4 separate regions of the Homo sapiens genome follow, and all the other regions are linked to region 1. The links are contacts of gene promoters, found by promoter capture Hi-C in blood cells and fetal thymus (Javierre and others, 2016). All regions are on one chromosome and are shown on one strand. Each heading gives the region's core, a stretch centred on a gene start or on the middle of the fragment in contact. The rest is flanking DNA. Distances are from core to core; before and after follow the strand shown. Region 1 holds the start of NIPSNAP1 (nipsnap homolog 1). Region 2 overlaps HORMAD2-AS1 (HORMAD2 and MTMR3 antisense RNA 1). Region 3 overlaps MTMR3 (myotubularin related protein 3). Region 4 overlaps MTMR3 (myotubularin related protein 3).

Evidence for each region. The method cuts DNA at HindIII sites, captures the fragments that hold promoters and counts their contacts. A CHiCAGO score of 5 or more calls a contact.
Region 2: a fragment that was not itself captured here is called in contact with the fragment with the promoter of NIPSNAP1 in region 1 in 1 of 17 cell types (M0 macrophages); the score reaches 5.3 in M0 macrophages.
Region 3: a contact is called between a fragment that was not itself captured here and the fragment with the promoter of NIPSNAP1 in region 1, in 3 of 17 cell types (neutrophils, total CD4 T cells and endothelial precursors). The highest score is 5.5, in neutrophils.
Region 4: a contact is called between a fragment that was not itself captured here and the fragment with the promoter of NIPSNAP1 in region 1, in 3 of 17 cell types (non-activated CD4 T cells, total B cells and total CD4 T cells). The highest score is 6.2, in non-activated CD4 T cells.

The regions. Positions count from the first base shown.
Region 1 is chr22:29,579,664-29,582,725 of GRCh38, forward strand. It overlaps NIPSNAP1 (nipsnap homolog 1), which reads right to left and starts at 1,450. Exons shown (of 10, transcript NM_003634.4): 1 at 1,322-1,450. The coding sequence starts at 1,419. RefSeq lists an enhancer at 611-1,223 and a silencer at 1,207-1,256. The HindIII fragment of the contact is 18,053 bases long and covers 1-3,062 here.
Region 2 is chr22:30,034,264-30,037,325 of GRCh38, forward strand. All of the region lies in intron 3 of HORMAD2-AS1 (HORMAD2 and MTMR3 antisense RNA 1), which reads right to left. Among named protein-coding and RNA genes, the nearest start is that of MIR6818, 29 kb to the left of the region's middle. The HindIII fragment of the contact is 1,111 bases long and covers 1,050-2,160 here.
Region 3 is chr22:30,015,811-30,018,872 of GRCh38, forward strand. MTMR3 (myotubularin related protein 3) reads left to right here. Exons shown (of 20, transcript NM_021090.4): 15 at 718-888; 16 at 2,117-2,262. It overlaps HORMAD2-AS1 (HORMAD2 and MTMR3 antisense RNA 1), which reads right to left. Exons shown (of 5, transcript NR_110541.2): 4 at 2,807-2,919. Among named protein-coding and RNA genes, the nearest start is that of MIR6818, 10 kb to the left of the region's middle. The HindIII fragment of the contact is 434 bases long and covers 1,299-1,732 here.
Region 4 is chr22:29,990,687-29,993,748 of GRCh38, forward strand. MTMR3 (myotubularin related protein 3) reads left to right here. Exons shown (of 20, transcript NM_021090.4): 7 at 818-984. Among named protein-coding and RNA genes, the nearest start is that of MIR6818, 15 kb to the right of the region's middle. The HindIII fragment of the contact is 985 bases long and covers 1,133-2,117 here.

The DNA.
Region 1 (3,062 bases), core at 200-2,699:
GTGATCTGCCTGCCTCGGCCTCCCAAAGTGCTGGGATTACAGGCATGAGCCACCATACCCGACCAACCACAGCATCTTTAATCCTCAACAACCCTATGAGATACATCCTGATTACTCCCATTTTACAGATGAGGAACCCGAGGCTTAAAGAGTCCTGAGGTCACCCCACCTACAAAGTCTGAGTTAGATCTGTTAGTGCCAGGCAAACTCTAGGCTTTTCCCACGGTGTCAGCTTTATCCCTAATTATTGGGCAGTCTAGGTGGGGCGCTTATGCCACTCCTCTTTCCCAGCTGTCCAAAAGCCCCACTGCTCTGTGCTGTAACATCTCATGGCAGGCACTATCAGAACTTTGCAGCTTCATTCCTGGGCTGCAGGGCAGGAGGGATGGTTGCTTCCTTTTCACAGGTTGGGGGAGGGGGAACAGGTGGCCTCACTTCTTTGGTAAATATTCCTTGACCATACACAGTCCTGAGCCCTCTGAGGGTGGGAGGCTGGGGAAACAGAGAAAAATGAGATCATGGTCTAGTGAGAGAGACAGACAAGCACCAAGTCATAACTGTGCAGGGTCATATATGCAGAGATGGGGGAAGTACAGGGCTGTGGGGACCAAGGAGTGAGGGGCTGCCCAGGGCCAGTCAGGGAGGCCAAGCCCTAGCTCAGCCCAGAGCAGGGCCCAAACAAAAGCCCAGGCTGAGAGCACATGGCCCAGCCAGACTCCCACTCCCAGGAGGCCACCAGTTGGGTGCAAAGTGCATGGCGCATTGGCAGGCCTGGGTCCCAGACCTGGTGCTGCCACGGCACAGCAGGGAGGGTGACCTTGGACAACTCCCATTCCCTCTCAGGTCCGTTTCCCCACCTGTACAGTTCGAGGTGGAGGAACAAAGGGTCTGTGCAGCCATGGCCCCTGGGGATCCCCCACTGCTCCCCTGCCATCATCTCTTTCCCACAGAACTTCCCGACGGAGGAGCTGACTACCAGAAGCCCCCAGTGGGTGTTAAATCACAAGCTACGCCTGGGAATGGGCCACTCCTCCTGTCTTCTGCCCTCTCCCACTCTCCAGGGCCCAGTACCTGCCCTTCTCACCATCTTTCATCAGGTCCCCATCACAGCCCGGTCCCAACCAGGACAAAGACCCTACCCATCCCTTTCTCACCTCCCCCATTCTTTGCCCAGACCCCTCCCTAGGCCTTGATCCTGCCCCGCCTCTAACCCCCAGATTCCAAGCGAGGAGTCTCAGCCCCTCCCCCACGACCCAGTCCCTGGCCCCCGCGCCTGCACCCCACCCCGCGCGCGTCTATCCCTGCCTGGCCGGGCTCTCACCGCGCCGCAGCTGCAGACGCAACGTCCCCAGCGCGAGGCCCCGGGCCCCCCAGCAGCCGCCGCGCCGTCACAGAGATGCTGCACAGCCGCGGAGCCATGTTGGAGCCGCAAAGGTTGCAGGAAGGCCCCGCCCCCAAGCCCTGGTGGCGGAGGCGGGGCGCGAATAAACTCCACCCCTCCGGCTCGCCCGCCCCCTCACTCACCCGGTCAGGTGGGCGTTTCCTGTGGGCGTCTCCAACTCCGCAGGTGCTGGACGGAAGTCAGGGTTCTAATCCTCTGCGCGCTCTGCGACCTTGGCAAGCCCTTTGCCCACTCTGGGCCTCAGGATCCACCTCGGTAAAATGGGAGCGTGGAACAATAATACCAAGGGTTCTTTTTTTTTTTTTTTTTTTTTTTGAGACGGAGTCTCGCTCTGTCGCCCAGGCTGGAGCGCAGTGGCGCGATCTCGGCCCACTGCAAGCTCCGCCTCCTGGGTTCACGCCATTCTCCTGCCTCAGCCTCCCGAGTAGCTGGAACTACAGGCGTCTGCCACCACGCCCAGCTAATTTTTTGTATTTTTAGTAGAAACGGGGTTTCACCGTGTTAGCCAGGATGGTCTCGATCTCCTGACCTCGTGATCTGCCTGCCTCGTGCTCCCAAAGTGCTGGGATTACAGGCGTGAGCCACCATGCCCAGCCTACCAAGGGTTCTTAACAAGGCTGTCCGGGATGTGCAGCAGAGGGTCAGTGTAACCACCCCATGGGTTCATTTTGCCCGTTTCCCAGACAGCGGATTTATCAAGACAGAGGAATTGCAATAAGAGTTTAATTCATGCAGAGCCGGCTGAATGGGAGACCGGAGTTTTATTATTACTCAAATCAGTCTCCCTGAAAATTCGGAGACTGGGTTTTATTAAGGATAATTTGGTGGGTAGGGGCCAGAGAGTGGAGAGTGCTGATTGGTCAGGTCGGAGATGCAATCATAGGGAGTGGAAGCCGTCCTCTTGTGCTGAGTGGATCTCTGGGTGGGGGCCACAAAACCGGATGATCCGGTTTCTTAATCTGTGTATCGCCAGCGGATCCATTGAGTGCAGGATCGGAAAAATATCTTGAGCACCAATCTTAGGTTTTACAGTAGTGATGTTATCCCTAGGAGCAACTGGGGAGGTTTAGAATCTGTGGCCACTACCTGCATGACTCCTAAACCGTAATTTCTAATCTCGTGGCTAATTTGTTAGTCTTACAAAAGCAGTCTGGTCCCCAGGCAAGAAAGGGGTTTATTTTGGGAGAGGGCTGTTATCTTTGTTTCAAAGTTGAACTATAAATTTGCTGCCGGGCATGGTGGCTCATGCCTGTAATCCCAGCATTTTGGGAGGCAAAGGTGGATCAGAAGTTTAGGTCAAGAGTTCAAGACCAGCCTGGCCAACAGGGTGAAACCCCGTCTCTACTAAAAATACAAAAAAATTAGCCAGGCATGGTGGCGGGCACCTGTAATCCCAGTTACTCGGGAGGCTGAGGCAGGAGAATCTCTTGAACCCTGGAGGCAGAGGTTGCAGTGAGCCGAGATCGCGCCACTGCACTCCAGCCTGGGCAACAAGAGCGAAACTCCGTCTCAAAAAACAAACAAAAAGACTGTAAGTTTGGCCTATGCCCAGGAATGAATATGGACAGTTTGGGGGTTAGAAGCAAAATGGAGTCGGTTAGGTCAGATCACTTTCACTGTCATAATTTTCTCACTGTTAAAATTTCTGCAAAGGGGTTGC
Region 2 (3,062 bases), core at 355-2,854, 450 kb after region 1:
GCCACCGGAGGTGGCAATGCCCGAGAGGCCATCCTGCAGGCACTAGCTGGAGATGCCAGTGCTGAGTGACTCCAAGGAGATTGTTTTCCTTCTGAAAAAGCAGCACATGGCTGGGCGCAGTGGCTCATGCCTGTAATCCCAGCACTTTGGGAGGCCGAGGCGGGTGGGTTGCCTCAGCTCAGGAGTTCGAAACCAGCCTGGGCAACACGGTGAAACTCCATCTCTACTAAAATACAAAAGCTGTAGCTAGGCATGGCAGCTGCTCAGGAGGCTGAGGCAGGAGAATTGCTTGAACCTGGGAGGCGGAGGTTGCAGTGAGCTGAGATTGTGCCACTACACTCCAGCCTGGGCGACAGAGCGAGACTCCATCTCAAAAAAAAAAAAAAAAAAGACACCATTCCTTTTGCTGAAGTGGGCACAGGCCAGGCCCCTAGGAACTGAGCGCTTGCAGTGCTGCAGGAAGTGCTCTCCTGGCACTCCCTTGTCCTGCCAAGAAGTGGGGACTGCAGGGGACTTTGAGCAACCCAGTACATGAACCTCTTCATTTACAGAAGCATTTTGGAGGCTTTTTTCACTACACAAAAGGTTCTACTATAGAATTTTCCAATTGTATTTTGCATTTTAAAATATACTGTTCATTAACATAAAAATATACACAATGCCGGGCACAGTGGCTCACGCCTGTAATCCCAGCACTTTGGGAGGCCAAGGGAGGCGGATCACTTGAGGTCAGGAATTTAAGACCAGCCTGGCCAACATGGCGAAACCCTATCTTTACAAAAACTTAGCCGGGCCTGGTGGCACGCGCCTATAGTTCCAGCTACTCGGGAGGCTGAGGCAGGAGAATCTTTTGAACCTGGGAGGCAGAGGTTGCAGTGAGCCAAGGTCGCGTTACTGCACTCCAGCCTGGTTGACGGAGCAAGACACCGTCTCCAGAAAAAAAAAAAGTGTACACAATTACAAGTGAAATTCCCACTTGCTAGAGGTAACTGACTCACCACCTTTAGTGAGTTGTCTTGGTTTTGTTTTTTAAAAATACTCTGCAACAAAGCTTTACTTGTTTTTGTTGTCTGTTACAGAGTAAACCGTGGTGTAGATTCTTCTGCCAGAAATTCTCACACTTTTGGAGTTAGAGAACAGAAATGGTTCAGTAAGTGACAAAATGACAGCCAGAATAGATGGTCTAGGGCTTTGTCCCACATCCACCATGGCCTTAGCCTTTTTCTTTCAACCTTGTTTGGCTGGCTCCTTCCTCTATCCCTAAAGCTGTCCAGTCCTCCAGCCTGCAAAGCAAATTCTTTCAAGTCAGAGCAAATTCTTTCAAGTCTCTGCCTCCAGCAAGTATCCTGTCTTGCTCCTTCCCTTCACTGTGAAACGAATAGAAAGAGTGGCCAGCTCTATATCGTCTTTGCTCCACCACCCCTTCCTCTTCCTCCTGCTTCTGCTGCCCCCCACCACCCCAACACTGGGTGTCCCCAAGGACTAGCCACACACTCTAGACCCACTCCAAAGCATTCTTTCTTGCAACCATTCTGCAACCTGCCACCTTGCTAACCCTCCTGCCAGTTCTTCTGCCTCTGTAGTTGGCCTGTGAGACTTTGCAGGCAGCCCTCTCACCTACTTCCTTGGCATTACTGCTCTGAGGCTCAGCTCTCTGCCCTCCTTCCACGCATGCTTCCTTGGACATGCAGAAATTAAAGTGCTGAAAATGGAGGCCTGTTATATACCACAGTTCTAAGTCTCTAGAGGCCTCCTTCAGGCACCTGGGGAGACTGCGAGAGCATCAGGTGTCCCCATCTGGACGTGTCTATGTGGCCATGCTTCACCTGCACCCCCACGCAGTTCGATGGCATTAACCTGGGGACTAGTTCTGGGCCTGAAAACTGAGCTCAGCCTTGTCAGCCAGAGATGCCTCGGGGCTTCCCCTGAACTGAGAGGCCACGACGTCTGCTCTTCGCTTTTATCCTCTGTTGCAGGATGCAGTCAGCACCTAGTGCAGGGGTGAACGCCGATGCCAAGTTTGCCCTCCTATCCTTCAACCCCAAGTAGGAAGTTCACCTCTTATTTTCATATTGTAATTGAATTCCGACACCCCACCAACCCTTCCTGGGACTGGGGGAAGCCCCATCGTCAGTCTATTTATGACACTCCGTCGTAGGAAGCTTTGACCCTGGTTGGACAGGAATGAGCTAGAGCACCCAAAGCCACTGGGCATGGTTTCTGTGTGCTGCCCTAGGCAAGGGCAGAGGGGCTCTGCCTCTCCTTACCTGGGCCTACCAGAACACCCTTGCCAGTCACATGTCTTCCGGGTCACCCTGCTGCCCTCCAAGGCACCTCATGCCCTCAGAGGGCCCTGCTGATGCCTGAAAAGCCCAGATCAAGCTGAGAACAAGGGCCTGGCTGTCTGTTCAGGAACCCTCTGCCCTGTTCTGCCTCGGTACTCTGTCACCCCTCATTGCTGAGGACCCTAACCAATGCATGCACAGAGAGTCTTGGCTTCTGACAGCTCTGGATATGCTCTGTGGCGCCTTCATGTAGTAAGTCATTGAAGGCTAAGTCTCTGTGCAGGCTTCACTGGTGACTCACACATGTCCCCACCCCTACCATTCCATGAGATGACATGGGACTTCTGTCTCAGGCACTGTTTGCTCTCAAGAATATGCTGCCTGTTAGGGAAGATGATCAGGCAGATAAATATATTCATACCCTCATCCAAAAAGAACAGGACCTGAAAAAGCCTCTTAGAGGCAACCCATTGAAAATGGAGACCAGTGTTTCATACAGCACATAGTGAAAAAGGTTTGATCCGAATTTAATCTTGTAAAATGAAACTATTATTGAAATAAGTATCTTTTTTGAATCGACAAAATTATATATAATATACAGTATGTTTTGAAATATGTATACATTGTGTAATGGTTTAAATCGATCTAATTAACATATGCGTTACCTCACATACTTATTTTTTTGTGATGAGAGACACTTAAAATCTACCCTCTTAGAGATTTTCAAGAATACAATGCATTGTTATTAACTAAGTCACCTTGTGGTGCAATAGAGCT
Region 3 (3,062 bases), core at 266-2,765, 440 kb after region 1:
CTCTTCTGCAATCTCCTTTAGTCACACTGGCCTCCTTGCTGTAGCTCAGAAATTGCAAGCATGTGCTTTACCTCAAAGCCATTGCACCTGTGGTTGCCTCTGCCTGGAGTGCTTCCCCTCAGATACCCACATGCCTGCTCTTTCAAGTCCACTGGGTCCCAGCCAGTGAGGCCATCCTGCACTGCCTCATATGTGTCCTGTCCATCTCAGTCTGCCTTGTTCTCCATAGCACTGGTCACTCTTCAGCTATGACTAGAGCAAGCTCCATCAGGGCAGAAGAATTTGCTGGTCATTGCTACATGCCCAGCACCTTAGTCATGTTTGGGCCATGTGAAATGCTCAATAATTTGTAGAATGAACAAGTAGTTTTACAAACATACTGTCAGCTCAGACTTGAGTTGTACACTGACGTGCTCCTGCACCCAGTTCATATGCTGTGGCGCTTGTGAGAGTGGCTGTTAATTCACAATCTCAGACTATTTATCACGGAAGCTAAGAGGAATAGGGGCACCAACAACCTGTCTGACTCAGGTTGTTGGGTCCTGGAATTGGTGGTGTGAGGAGGAGGAGGCTACTGCATGGCTTACTGGGTTCCCCGTCCTGACAGAGTAAATTGAAGTGTTCTCAGGGATGTTAGGATAAGGTGGCTCAGCTGAGCTGACTTATCAGAGTGTGCATGCCTGATTGCTTAATTTGTGCTTCATTGGACTTCCATAGGTGAAACTGGTGCAGCATACCTATTCCTGCCTGTTTGGAACATTCCTGTGCAACAACGCCAAGGAGAGAGGGGAAAAGCATACTCAGGAACGGACATGTTCCGTGTGGTCACTTCTTCGGGCAGGCAACAAGGCTTTCAAAAACCTACTGTATTCCTCTCAGTCAGAAGCCGTATGTATCCTTCAGCCTTTCCACTGTGGTCAGCAGAAGGAATTTGGGGTTGGTTACATATGAGAGCCTTTTTGAGTAGTGACTGTTTTTGTGAAGACATCTCTACTGTCTCTGGATGGACTGGTTCCATTTTTCCCCCATGATTCTGTCCTGAGGAAGGCCTGCTTCTGATGGTGCTCTGATCTGTTTCTGATGACTACTTGCTGAGGGTGGTTTGGTTTAACACAGATCTCTACTTTGCCACCCTAGACATGAATCTTTTTTGGCACTGCCTCCAGAGCTTATTTCTAGCATATTCTGTCTTACGGGAGAGGCACTTAAGTTGCTTCCTGATGCACTGATAGCTCAGAATGAGCTGCCACCAGGCCCCCAGCACCCTCCCAGTGTCAATAAGCAATGATACCCACCAAAGCTTCTGTCTCAGAACAGTAAACTGTGTTTGACATTGGTATGTGTGTCTGTCTGATTCTCTGCTCACATGAAGAGCTGGCAGGCCCTTTAAGACTTTGTTCCCCGAAGGAATGAATACCTTCTGTTAAGCAGAGAAAAGGAGGCACATAGACCTATGTGTCAGTTTCATAGTAATACTAGCTTTGTCAGAATGCATCTTAGACCCTAAAGAAGTCAAAAGGAGGCTAATCAGAGTTCATACTGATTTCCTGGACTATTAATATGGTTCTCATTACATTTAAGTAATCACAGAAAAGATTTAAGCTGACTGCTTGTCTCTCCCCTTCAGTGTGCCTTCTGGGGAAGTAACAATACAGCAGGAAAATTTCCTTCTTTTCACATGATTAATTTAAATGATCCCATAAAATGGGTTTGACAGTGTTTCTTGAAGCCAAGCTTTTGTGCCAGCAGGATGGACAATCACCATCTAACAGAATGACTCACTTTCTTAGGCAGTAAAAGCAACAAATCAAGCTGATGAAAGTCAGACATTGAAGGTGACCTAAGAAATAACTATAATGAGAAAGGGATCTAAAAAATATTTTATATTTTCATGCTCTCAAGTGGCTCTTAGGTGAAAAATGTTGGCTATATAAAATGTCTAGTCCTGTATTGGTCCTCTTGGGATAGACCTGTATCCATTGGTGCTGCTTCTTTGTGGAGATCCTGTCAGCCCTGTTGGGTATTCCAGCTGGGTGCTTGCTCTTGATCCTCATTTCCAGACATCCTAGAAGACTTATTGGGGCATATTTAAACCTGTGTCCTCCCCCCTCCTCAGGTGCTGTACCCTGTGTGCCATGTGCGTAACCTGATGCTGTGGAGTGCAGTGTACCTGCCCTGCCCATCCCCAACCACCCCTGTGGACGACAGCTGTGCACCATACCCAGCCCCAGGCACCAGCCCTGATGATCCCCCCCTGAGCCGGTGAGCCCAGGGTGATGCCACAGGCCTGACAGCCTGTGTGGGTGTATTCCTGTGTTGGGACGTGTGCAGGGATGGTCAGAGATCATGATGGTATCTGGCTCCACAGTATCTTTCTTAGGTCTCTGCAGTTTTTTCAGGGAAGTTATAGGGATTTCTGAGCTACGAGGCTGTAAGATCCTTGTTTCTGGGAGTGAGTTAGGCCCTGTTGCTTCATGTTGTTTTGCATACACTGAGCCGCTCCTCAGTGATAGAGCAAATCCTCCAGTTTTTCTGTGACCCCCTGGTTTGTGTTTTCCCCAGTGCTCTGTGCTCCTGCCTATTTGCCATGATTTGTCTTCTGAGGCTTAAAAGGCAGATGCTGTCAGATGACAGAAAATTTTGCTTTGGGGCCAGGCTTGGTGGCTCATGCCTGTAATCCCAGCACTTTGGGAGGCCAAGGTGGGAGGATCGCTTGAGCCCAGGAGTTCCAGACCAGCCTGGGCAATGTGTTGAAACTCTGTTTCTACCCAAAATGCAAAAACTAACCAAGCGTGGTGGCACATACCTGTAGTCCCAGCTACTTGGGAGGTTGAGGCAGGAGGATCACTTGAGCCTGGAAGGTGGAGGTTGCAGTGATCCAAGATCCATTGCACTCCAGCCTGGATGACAGGGCAAGACCTGTCTCAGGAAAAAAAAAAAAGAAAAGAAAATTTGGCTTTGTCACTTGAGAATTAGCTTTATTAAATTCAGACTGATAGATAATACATTAATTTAAAATACTGTAATATCAAGAAACACCAGTGCTACTTTGCCATCCACTG
Region 4 (3,062 bases), core at 375-2,874, 410 kb after region 1:
TCTCGTGCCTCAGCCTTCTGAGAAGCTGGGATTACAGGTGCACGCCACCACACCTGGCTAATATTTTTGTATGTTTATCAGAGACGGGAGTTTTGCCATGTTGGCCAGGCTGGTCTTGAACTCCTGACCTCCAGTGATCTGCCCGTCTTGGCCTCCCAAAGTGCTGGGATTACAGGCATGAGCCACTGCACTCAGCCTAAACATATCTTTAATAAATTAGTTTTCACTAATTATTTTAACTTCTTAGTTGTATATACTGAAAATCGCAGTTGACAATAGAATTGTTTTGTTCTCTACATGGTCATAGCTGAAAGTTTCAGTGCAATCTGTCTTTTGGATCTGATTTGTCCTAATAGCTAAATATTGAAATTACTACCTAACTGGCTAAAAATAATGCTGTTTTTTTTTAAACTTGATCTAATATGTTACTACAAAACAAAGATTTTTCTAAACATATTTTTTATGAGGGACAACCATAAAACTTCGATGGAAGAAGTAGAATGAAACTCCACTCATGAAAGAGAATAGCTGCCATTTTTCTGTAATAATTGTCATTAATCTTAGAAGAGATTTCATTAGTCTAAAAAAATAGGTTTTCCAATGGTCAGCTTCCTCCTTTTGGACATTTTGTTCCATTGGCTAACATTTGTTTTTCTTATAAGTGATAATGAGCATGCGAATGACTGACTGCCTCAGATGCTTTCTTGGTTGTAGTTCCCACTTCACTACGAGTGGGCATTCTTGAAATAATGGCTTTTCTTACATTTCATTTCAACTGTCTTCTGATTACATCCATACTTGTTTGGCTTTACAAAAGGTGTCAGTTTTCAACCTTTGAGCAGTGTCAAGAGTGGCTGAAGAGACTGAACAACGCAATCCGACCACCTGCTAAAATAGAAGATCTCTTCTCATTTGCATACCATGCTTGGTGCATGGAGGTCTATGCCAGTGAAAAAGAGCAACATGGAGACCTGTGCAGACCAGGTACGCCTTTCTGAAATGTGCAAATGGCCAGGGGCTTTATCAAGCTACTGATGGAGGTACTTTTAACATGAAATGGGACACCTAAGCATTCATATATCAATCAGTGTATATTTTAAGGAGCACCCAGCAAGTGCGCAGCATTCTTTTAAGCTTAATAGAACATCTTTTCTGCCTTCCGGGGAAGGGAAGAACACTAGAAGGCATCACAATCTATTGGGCCTAAAAACAGCTCAACTATAATAAGGTTTTATGAATAGTATGGAAGCCTGATAGAAAGGAGCCATGAGTTTTGTATACATGTGTGGGAAGACTTCACATTTAAAGTGGCTTTTGAATCAGCTTTGAAAGTTGAATAGGAGTTAATTGGTGAGAGGCCAGGTTCCTATCAAGAACAAATAGATAGTGGGGTTTGTTTTTTGTTTTTTTTGAGACGGAGTTTCGCTCTTGTTGCCCAGGCTGGAGTGCAATGGCTCAATCTCGGACCACTGCAACCTCCGCCTCTTGGGTTCAAGCAATTCCCCTGCCTCAGCCTCCTGTGTAGCTGGGATTACAGGCATGCGCCACCATGCCCGGCTAATTTTTTATTTTTAGTAGAGACGGGGTTTCTCCATGTTGGTCAGGCTGGTCTCAGGTGATACGCCCGCCTTGGCCACCCGGAGTGCTTGGATTTATAGGCGTGAGCCACAGCTCCTGGCCTAGATTATAGGTTTTAACATGTGACCCCCTCCCCCCCAAAAAAACCAAAAAGAGATGCTGAGCCTGTTCTGGAACCCAGGCTTCCTGACTCCTCTATAGTCTTTGTCCCCCTCACTGTCATTCTCCGTCAGAAATGGCTTTGACCATGTTATTTCTCTGCATGTAGTTTCTTGTAAACTTTATGTGGTCATAAAACTTTGCTGGTCCAACACTGACTTTTAGTGTGTCAGGTTTCAAAGTGAAGTCTTAAATTTCTGTGCAGTGAAAAGTTGTAAGCCTCCTTCAAGTAAAGTTTACTCTTGGGACTTTTTTCTAGAAACCTGAAATTTTAATCCTGAATCTTCAATCTTATAAGTCTGCCCTGGGTCATTTTAAACATTTGAGGCTAATCTTGCTATGCTTTTGTTACTTTGTTCTCTGGCCCCATGACTAATTGAAGCTTTTGGTTCACATTCTTGTTCTATTAAAATGCTTGTAGCATTAGCATTATCTTATGTTTAACAATGCTTTGATAAATACTTTTGTTTGATCCTCATGACCTTGTCAAACAGGCAAGATAGGTTGGTGTCTGTTTTGGGAGCCAAAGAAATGGAGGCTCAGAGGTAAAAAGCCTGTTGTCAAGTCCCAGTGCTAGTCACTGACGACAGAACTAGGACTTAAAACCAGTTCTCAGTTATTCAGACCTGACCATGGTGGATGCTGTGGATACAGAGTTTGAAAAACAAAAGCACCTGCCCTCTTGGAGCCTCAGGGAAAGCCTCAGAATCCCAGCTTCTCACAGGCGTGTCCAGGCTAGCAGAATCCTGTCACCTACGAGAGACCACACCAACCTTGGAAGTTTATGAGAATGTGCTTAAACTGTCTCTCACTTCACTCCGATTGTTACATCTATTTTTTTTCTTTATTGAAATGCCATCACATTTTAAATACATTTTTTCATTTTTTATGGCTCTTTTCAAATTTGGGGGTTTTTCTTAAAGAGAAAGTTTACAAACAGTGATGTGTACAAATCTTACATGTACAGTTTCTGAGTTTTTAACCATTGCATCTTCTTTATTAAATTTTTAGTTTCTACCATCTCCTAGGATAATGAACTTAATGAGTGCATCCTACTGCATTATGTTATATAAGAACTTTAATTTGTTTAAGACCCCTGACTCCAAGACCCCTGACTCCAAGAGGTATTCCCTAATTTTGGGTTGCCAGCATTTACTCAGCAAGATTTGCTTTCTCCTATCCTGTTCTCTCACAACCACAGACTGAAAAGTCCTTATCTTTTTAGGAGAGCTTTTTTAGTCCCTTGATAATTTGAGTTTCTTTTAGATTTCAGCAAACTCTTAGGATATTCCTGAGAGGTACCTCAGTCTAGTCTTTTAATTATG